Linked DNA regions of Homo sapiens: region 2 is linked to region 1. Evidence: promoter capture Hi-C in 16 types of primary human blood cells and fetal thymus (Javierre and others, 2016). All regions are on one chromosome and are shown on one strand. The core of a region is centred on a gene start or on the middle of the fragment in contact, and the rest is flanking DNA. Distances in the headings are between cores, read along the strand shown.

What was found. Contacts are between HindIII fragments. The CHiCAGO score rates a contact against its expected background, and 5 or more counts as called.
Region 2: a contact is called between a fragment that was not itself captured here and the fragment with the promoter of CYP11A1 in region 1, in 1 of 17 cell types (fetal thymus). The highest score is 5.6, in fetal thymus.

The regions. Positions count from the first base shown.
Region 1 is chr15:74,366,000-74,369,506 of GRCh38, reverse strand. CYP11A1 (cytochrome P450 family 11 subfamily A member 1) reads left to right here and starts at 1,861. Exons shown (of 9, transcript NM_000781.3): 1 at 1,861-2,190. The coding sequence starts at 1,922. It overlaps LOC124903524 (a long non-coding RNA gene), which reads right to left. Exons shown (of 2, transcript XR_007064709.1): 2 at 1-3,507. RefSeq lists enhancers at 161-283, 1,705-1,729, a promoter at 1-1,911 and a silencer at 3,319-3,478. The HindIII fragment of the contact is 5,873 bases long and covers 1-3,507 here.
Region 2 is chr15:74,498,778-74,502,182 of GRCh38, reverse strand. LOC102723714 (a long non-coding RNA gene) reads right to left here and starts at 3,349. Exons shown (of 2, transcript XR_007064712.1): 1 at 3,316-3,349; 2 at 1-23. The HindIII fragment of the contact is 1,120 bases long and covers 1,131-2,250 here.

The DNA.
Region 1 (3,507 bases), core at 612-3,111:
CTTCCATGCCACATCGATTAGGGCTCCTTCTGAGGGAGGAATGTGGGGCTGCGTAGAACAATGGGATTGACTTTAAGTCAGAAAGTTATAAATGTCACCTCAGTGCTGAGACCCTTGGAGGAAAAACTAGTCCTTGGAAGACTGCTTTTCTTTGTGGAAGCTCATCACCCTGCCGCTGCTCGTGAGACACTGCCTTCCTTGGCTGATGTCATTCCAGGCTCAAGGTCATCAGTGAGGCAAAACAGGCTTTCTCCATACTCTCTTTATCAGAAGGTTCATGACTGATGAGGTAGTGGTCACTCCAGCGGGAAGAGCAACAACCACTCTTGATAAGTACTTTTTTTTTTTCTTCTAAAAACTGTTGCTCTAAATTTGTTGAAAGTGGTTCAACAGTATTGGAGTCTGGGGTCAAGTGGCTGTGTAAGGACAACTTTTGCCATTGTGGGTGATCTATGGGCTGACACATACAACAGAAGAGGCCAGGAGGATGTCACTCGTGTGTGTGTGTGTGTGTGTGTGTTTGGTAACAGCTCTATTGAGATATAATTCACACACCATACAATTCACCCATTTAAAGTATGCAATTCAATGGCTTTTAGTGTATCAGAGAGTTGTTCAATAATTACCACAATATACTTTAGAATATTTTCATTTTCATCATCCTAAGAATCCCTACACACTTTATGTCCCATCCTCTAATTCCTCTATCCCCCTAGCTCTAAGCAACCACCAGTCTATTTTCTGTCTCTTAGATGTGTGTTTTAAATGCCTTATTTGCCAGAAAATAAGATTTTGGGGAAAAAAAGCAAGAAGTTGTACCTTCCAATGATAAGTATAAGGTATAGTGTAGATTGCTGTCATGAAATGCTCTACATGGCACATGTATGTTTTCTGACCTACACATTTTTACCAAGTGGGCTGTAATTTTGTTGAAATGACTTGAAAACTCTACAGGTGACTGACCCTTGTTGTTTGGGAAAGTGGTAGGTGCAGGGTGATGGGGGGTGGGTGTGGGGGCTGACCTGGGCTGGAAGGATGGGTCTGGGGATATGATATGATGGGAGGGGGTATGGAAGCAGCTCTGAGGGGAAAGCAGCACAGATCAAGTGTGTGGACAGGGAAGAGCTGACATCCTGAGTTCCATGGCAACCAGATTTGCCAAGGTCTTAGAGTGTGTCCAGAGTGGAGCCTGACCACAGACCTCAGCTCAAGGGACCCAGAGCCCCTCTGAGTCAGCTGTACTGAATTACAGCCCCAAATCTGGGTCAACTGGGGAGAGACGACGAGGATTAGGGTTCCAAGGTGAAACTGTGCCATTGCGCTCCAGCCTGGGCAACAAGAATGAAACTCTCTTAAAATAAAATAAAATAAAATAAAATAAAATAAAATAAAATAGCCTAAGGATGCATTTCTCAGAACTTATCCCTGTTGTTCAATGATGTGTGTCTATACAGTGGGGCCATAACTAAGACGTATGTTGCCCAAGCTGGCAAGATAGCTCTGACCTTCTCTTGGGCCCCTCATTTCCCCCAAACACAGGTTGTCTGCAGTCTTGACCAATGGCTGCCAGGGCATGGACTCCGCTGCAGGGGCCAGTGGGAGGCCCCAGCTCAGGCAAAAGCACAGGCAGATATTTCAGGAGTCTGCTAGGGCTGGCACTGAGGGCAGAGACAGAGGGGTCTCCCTGTCCTTTGGAGAACCTCACGCTGCAGAAATTCCAGACTGAACCTTCATACCGAGTAGGGGAGGAGCTGTCTGCGGGTTTGAGCCTGCAGCAGGAGGAAGGACGTGAACATTTTATCAGCTTCTGGTATGGCCTTGAGCTGGTAGTTATAATCTTGGCCCTGGTGGCCCAGGGCTACAGTCATCCTAGCAGTCCCCGCTGAAGTGGAGCAGGTACAGTCACAGCTGTGGGGACAGCATGCTGGCCAAGGGTCTTCCCCCACGCTCAGTCCTGGTCAAAGGCTGCCAGACCTTTCTGAGTGCCCCCAGGGAGGGGCTGGGGCGTCTCAGGGTGCCCACTGGCGAGGGAGCTGGCATCTCCACCCGCAGTCCTCGCCCCTTCAATGAGATCCCCTCTCCTGGTGACAATGGCTGGCTAAACCTGTACCATTTCTGGAGGGAGACGGGCACACACAAAGTCCACCTTCACCATGTCCAGAATTTCCAGAAGTATGGCCCGATTTACAGGTAAGCCTGGCAGAGGGTGGGAGCCGAAGGGACAGGGAGGAGGAGGGGCCTGGGTAGCCCTGCTGTAGTCCCCACTCCCCCAACAGGCTGTTCTCTGGTTCCAAACTCCTGTCTAACTTCTTTTTTTTTTTTTTTTTTGGTAATACAATACAGAAATATATCAGGGATATTTCAAAATTCAACATTTGAATCTGTGAATGTCTTAAGTACTCTAAACCAGACATCTACTTTTGAAACAATTGGTGGCAAGACCGCCAGCCATCTGTAAGGAAGCTCTTTAATGGGTCCAAACCCCAGGTCTGGCCAGGCATGGTGGCTCACACCCATAATCCCAGCACTTTGGGAGGCCGAGGTGGGCGGATCACTTGAGATCAAGAGTTCGAGACCATCCTGGCCAACATGATGAAACCCCGTCTCTACTAAAAATACAAAAATTAGCTGGGTGTGGTGGCAGGCGCCTGTAATCCCAGCTACTCGGGAGGCTGAAGCAGGAGAATGGCTTGAACCGGAGAGGCAGAGGTTGCAGTGAGCCGAGATCGCACCATTGCAATCCAGCCTGGGCGACAGAGTGAGATTCTGTCTCAAACAAAACAAAACAACCTCCTCGGTCTGAGGAGGGGAGACTGGTGAGGCTAAGTTTTGAATTCCTGGCCCTGTAGCTGTCAGCCCAGCCAGCGAGTTTTAAAAATTGGGAGAAGGCCGGGTGCGGTGGCTCACGCTTGTAATCCCAGCACTTTGGGAGGCTGAGGCAGGCGGATCACTTGAGGACAGGAGTTCGAGATCAACCCGGCCAACATGGTGAAACCCTGTCTCTACTACAAAAATAAATAAATAAATAAATAAATAAATAAATAAAATAAAAAAAATTAGCCGGGCATGGTGGCGGGGGTCTATAATCCCAGCTACTCGGGAGGCTGAGGCAGGACACTCGCCCGAACCCAGGAGGTGGAGGTTGCAGTGAGCCGAGATCATGTCACTGCACTCCCGCCCTGGGCAACAAAAGCGAAACTCTGTCTCAAAAAAAAAAAAAAAAAAAAAATCGGGGGAGGGAGATTTGAAGGTCAGAGCACAGAGTGAAAAGGTCGCAGCGTGGTCAAGTTTGGCGCTAGCGACAGACCCAGCATTCCTCCCAGCGCACGCCGCCGCCCGGGCCGCGCTATTCCGAAATTGGGTCCGCCCTAGCGTGGCCCCCGGCCTGCTCCTGCGCTCTTCGCGGGTCGCTCACCTCCGCCTCCCCTCGACACAGCCCGAGCCCATCCGCCCCCCGGGTCGACCCGCGTTTACCTCAGGGCGAGGTCCAGGCGCTCGGCCCCGCGG
Region 2 (3,405 bases), core at 441-2,940, 130 kb before region 1:
GAGAATCTGGTCTTCCACAGTTGCTACCAAAGTAGATGAGAAAGGAGATGGTAAGATGGGGTTTGGAACTGGATCACCACCCATCTGATGATGAGGATCCCATTAGTGGAGGTGGGCAGAGCACAGACAAATGGCAGCAAATTGGGAGAATGTACCAGTAGAACTGGATACTCTAAGGGCACAATGTGCCAGGTACTTGAGATGTATGGAGGGAGTAGTAGCTATGAGGATGATGGAATTGGTGGCTATTGCCAAGCTCCATGGATGTGCTACAGGATAATAAACAACTTAGGGCCAGTAACATGCATTAAAATCCAGGTTATGGGGCCAGGTGCAATGGCTCATGCCTGTAATCCCAGCACTTTGGGAGGCCAAGGCAGGTGGATCACCTAAGGTTAGGAGTTTGAGACCAGCCTGGCCAACATGGCGAAACCCCATCTCTGCTAAAAATACAAAAATTAGTCAGGCGTGATGGCACATACCTGTAGTCCCAGCTACTTGGGAGGCTGAGGCAGGAGAATTGCTTGAATCCGGGAGGCAAAGGTTATAGTGAGCCAAGATCGTGCCACTGCACTTCAGCCTGGGCAACAGAGTAAGATCATCTCAAAAAAAAAAAAAAAAAAAAATCCAGGTTATGAAAAGGAAAAGGCCTCTTTGGTTTATACAAATAAGCCAACATCTCTAGCAGTGAAAGGGTGGAGAAAAGCAAGGACAAAGCCTAGGACTTAATAATCTAAGCAACTGGCCAGGCGTGGTGGCCCACACCTGTAATCCCAGCACTTTGGGAGGCTGAGGCGGGCAGATCACCAGGTCAGGAGTTCAAGACCAGCCTGGCTAAGATAGTGAAACCCCGTCTGTACTAAAAATACAAAAAATTAGCTGGGCATGGTGGCGTGCGCCTGTAATCCCAGCTACTAGGGAGGCTGAGGCAGGAGAATCGCTTGAACCTGGGAGGCAGAGGTTGCAGTGAATGGAGATCGTGCCACTGCACTCCGGCCTGGGGGACAGTGCAAGACTCCATCTAAAATAATAATAATAATAATAATCTGAGCAACTGACTTCAAAGACAGTTAAATGTCCAAATAAGGCACATCTCTTATGCTAAAGTCAAAGTCCTGGTTGGAAAAGCTTGGGACCCTGACACGTGGAATGGAGATATCAGAGTGGATGCTCCTAAAGATTTTTTTTTTGAGACGGAGTCTCGCTCTGTCTCCCAGGCTGGAGTGCAGTGGTGTGATGTTGACTCACTGCAGCCTCTGCCTCCAGGATTCAAGCGACTCTCCTGCCACAGCCTCCCAAGTAGCTGGGACTACAGTCATGCACCACCATGCCCAGCTAGTTTTTTTTGTATTTTTAGTGGAGACGGGGTTTCACCATGTTGGCCAGGTTGGTCTCGAACTCCTGACCATAAGTGATCCACTCGCCTTGGCCTCTCCTGAATATTTTGACTCCACAAATTCCTCTGAATCTCCTGAGCCTACAGAATTGGCCCACTCCTCCCTAGTAAGAACTACCACTCTCTCCCTGCTGAGGGACAATGCAGTGCCTTTCTCCACAAAGCAACAGCTCCCCCTCAGAATCTGCCCCCACATTGCCTCCTAGCCTATACTAGGTTAGCTACAGCATAACCCAGCTGGAGAGGTGCTGGGTATGATAGGGGTGGAAAGGGACTATATGCCACAGAAATAGCAAGACCTAGCCAGCATGTATTGGCAGGAGCCAGGGAGATACATGTGGAACTGGATTCTGAGAGTGCTTGATGAAGGAGAAGGAATATAAAATTGGATAGGGAAGAGTTTATTGACTTGGGAATCCCTCTTTGTTTCTTTTCGTTTCTTTTCTTTCTTTTTGAGATGGAGTCTCACCCTGTCAGGCTGGAGTGCAATGGCGCAATCTCAGTTCACTGCAACCTCTGCCTCCCGGGTTCAAACAACTTTCCTGCCTCAGCCTCTCGAGTAGCTGGGATTACAGGCACGTGCCACCATGCCCAGATAATTTTTGTATTTTTAGTAGAGACGGGATTTCACCATGTTGGCCAGGCTGGTCTCGAACTCCTGACCTTGTGATCCGCCTGCCTCGGCCTCCCAAAGTGCCGGGATTTCAGGTGTGAGCCACTGCGCCCGGCAGGAATCTCTCTTTCAAAATACAAGATTTAACATCCTGGCAAGGACAATAGGAGATGGTACAATCTTACTACCAGGATGGATCCTAGAAGCATGGAAAAAGTGATGACCTATGCCAAAGAAAGCTTACATGCCGGAATTGCTATGGCAGATAGTGATGGTAGAATGAAAAGACTCAGGGAAATAGGTGTGCCAGAATGGATAGACTATAGGTAACCAGAAGATCTCCTAGCTAATTATGCCTCATGAGAAGGCCCAGAGAACACGTTTTCATCTGTTTTCTGTTGCTCTCACTGCATAGCACAGACTGGGTAGTTTATAAGAAGTTTACTGAGTTCATGGTTCTGGAGGCTGGGAAGCCCAAGAGCCTGAAGTCAGGATCTGGTGAGATCCTTCTTGCTGTGTCATAACATAGCAGAGAACATCACATGGTGAGAGGGCAACCAGAAAGATTCTGGTTACTCTTGCTTGCTTTTATAACAAAGCCATTCCCATGATAGAGCTTGCTTTTATAACAAAAAAACAAAGCTTGTTTTTATTGCAAAGCCATTCCCGTGATAACGAACCTACTCCCATGATAATGACATTACTCCATTCAAGAGGGCAGAACTCTCATTACTCCATATATTCATTCATGAGGGCAGAACTGACATTAATCCATTTATGAGGGGAGAACAATTAAGTTTCTAACACACAGATTTTTAGGGGCCACATTCAAACCATAACAACACACTACTTATCAAGGCCGTGAAGAATTTGCTGCCCGGCATGGTGGCTCACACCTGTAATCCTAGCACTTTGGAAGTCCGAGGTGGGTGGATCACTTGAGGTCAGGAGTTTGAGACCAGCCTGGCCAACATGGTGAAACCCTGTCTCTCCAAAAAAATATAAAAATTAGGCCGGGCGTGGTGGCTCACGCCTATAATCCCAGCACTTTGGGAGGCCAAAGTGGGTGGATCACTTGAGGTCAGGAGTTCGAGACCAGCCTGGCCAACATGGTGAAACCCCGTCTCTACTAAAAAATAGAAAAATTGGCCGGGCGCAGTGTCTCACGTCTATAATCCCAGCACTTTGGGAGGCCGAGGCGGGCGGATCAAGAGGTCAGGAGATCGAGACCATCCTGGCTAACACGGTGAAACCCCGTCTCTACTAAAAAAAATACAAAAAATTAGCTGGGCGTGGTAGCGGGCACCTGTAGTCCCAGCTACTTGGGAGGCTGAGGCAGGAGAATGGCGTGAACCCAGGAGGTGGAGCTTGCAGTGAGCCAAGATTGTGCCACTGC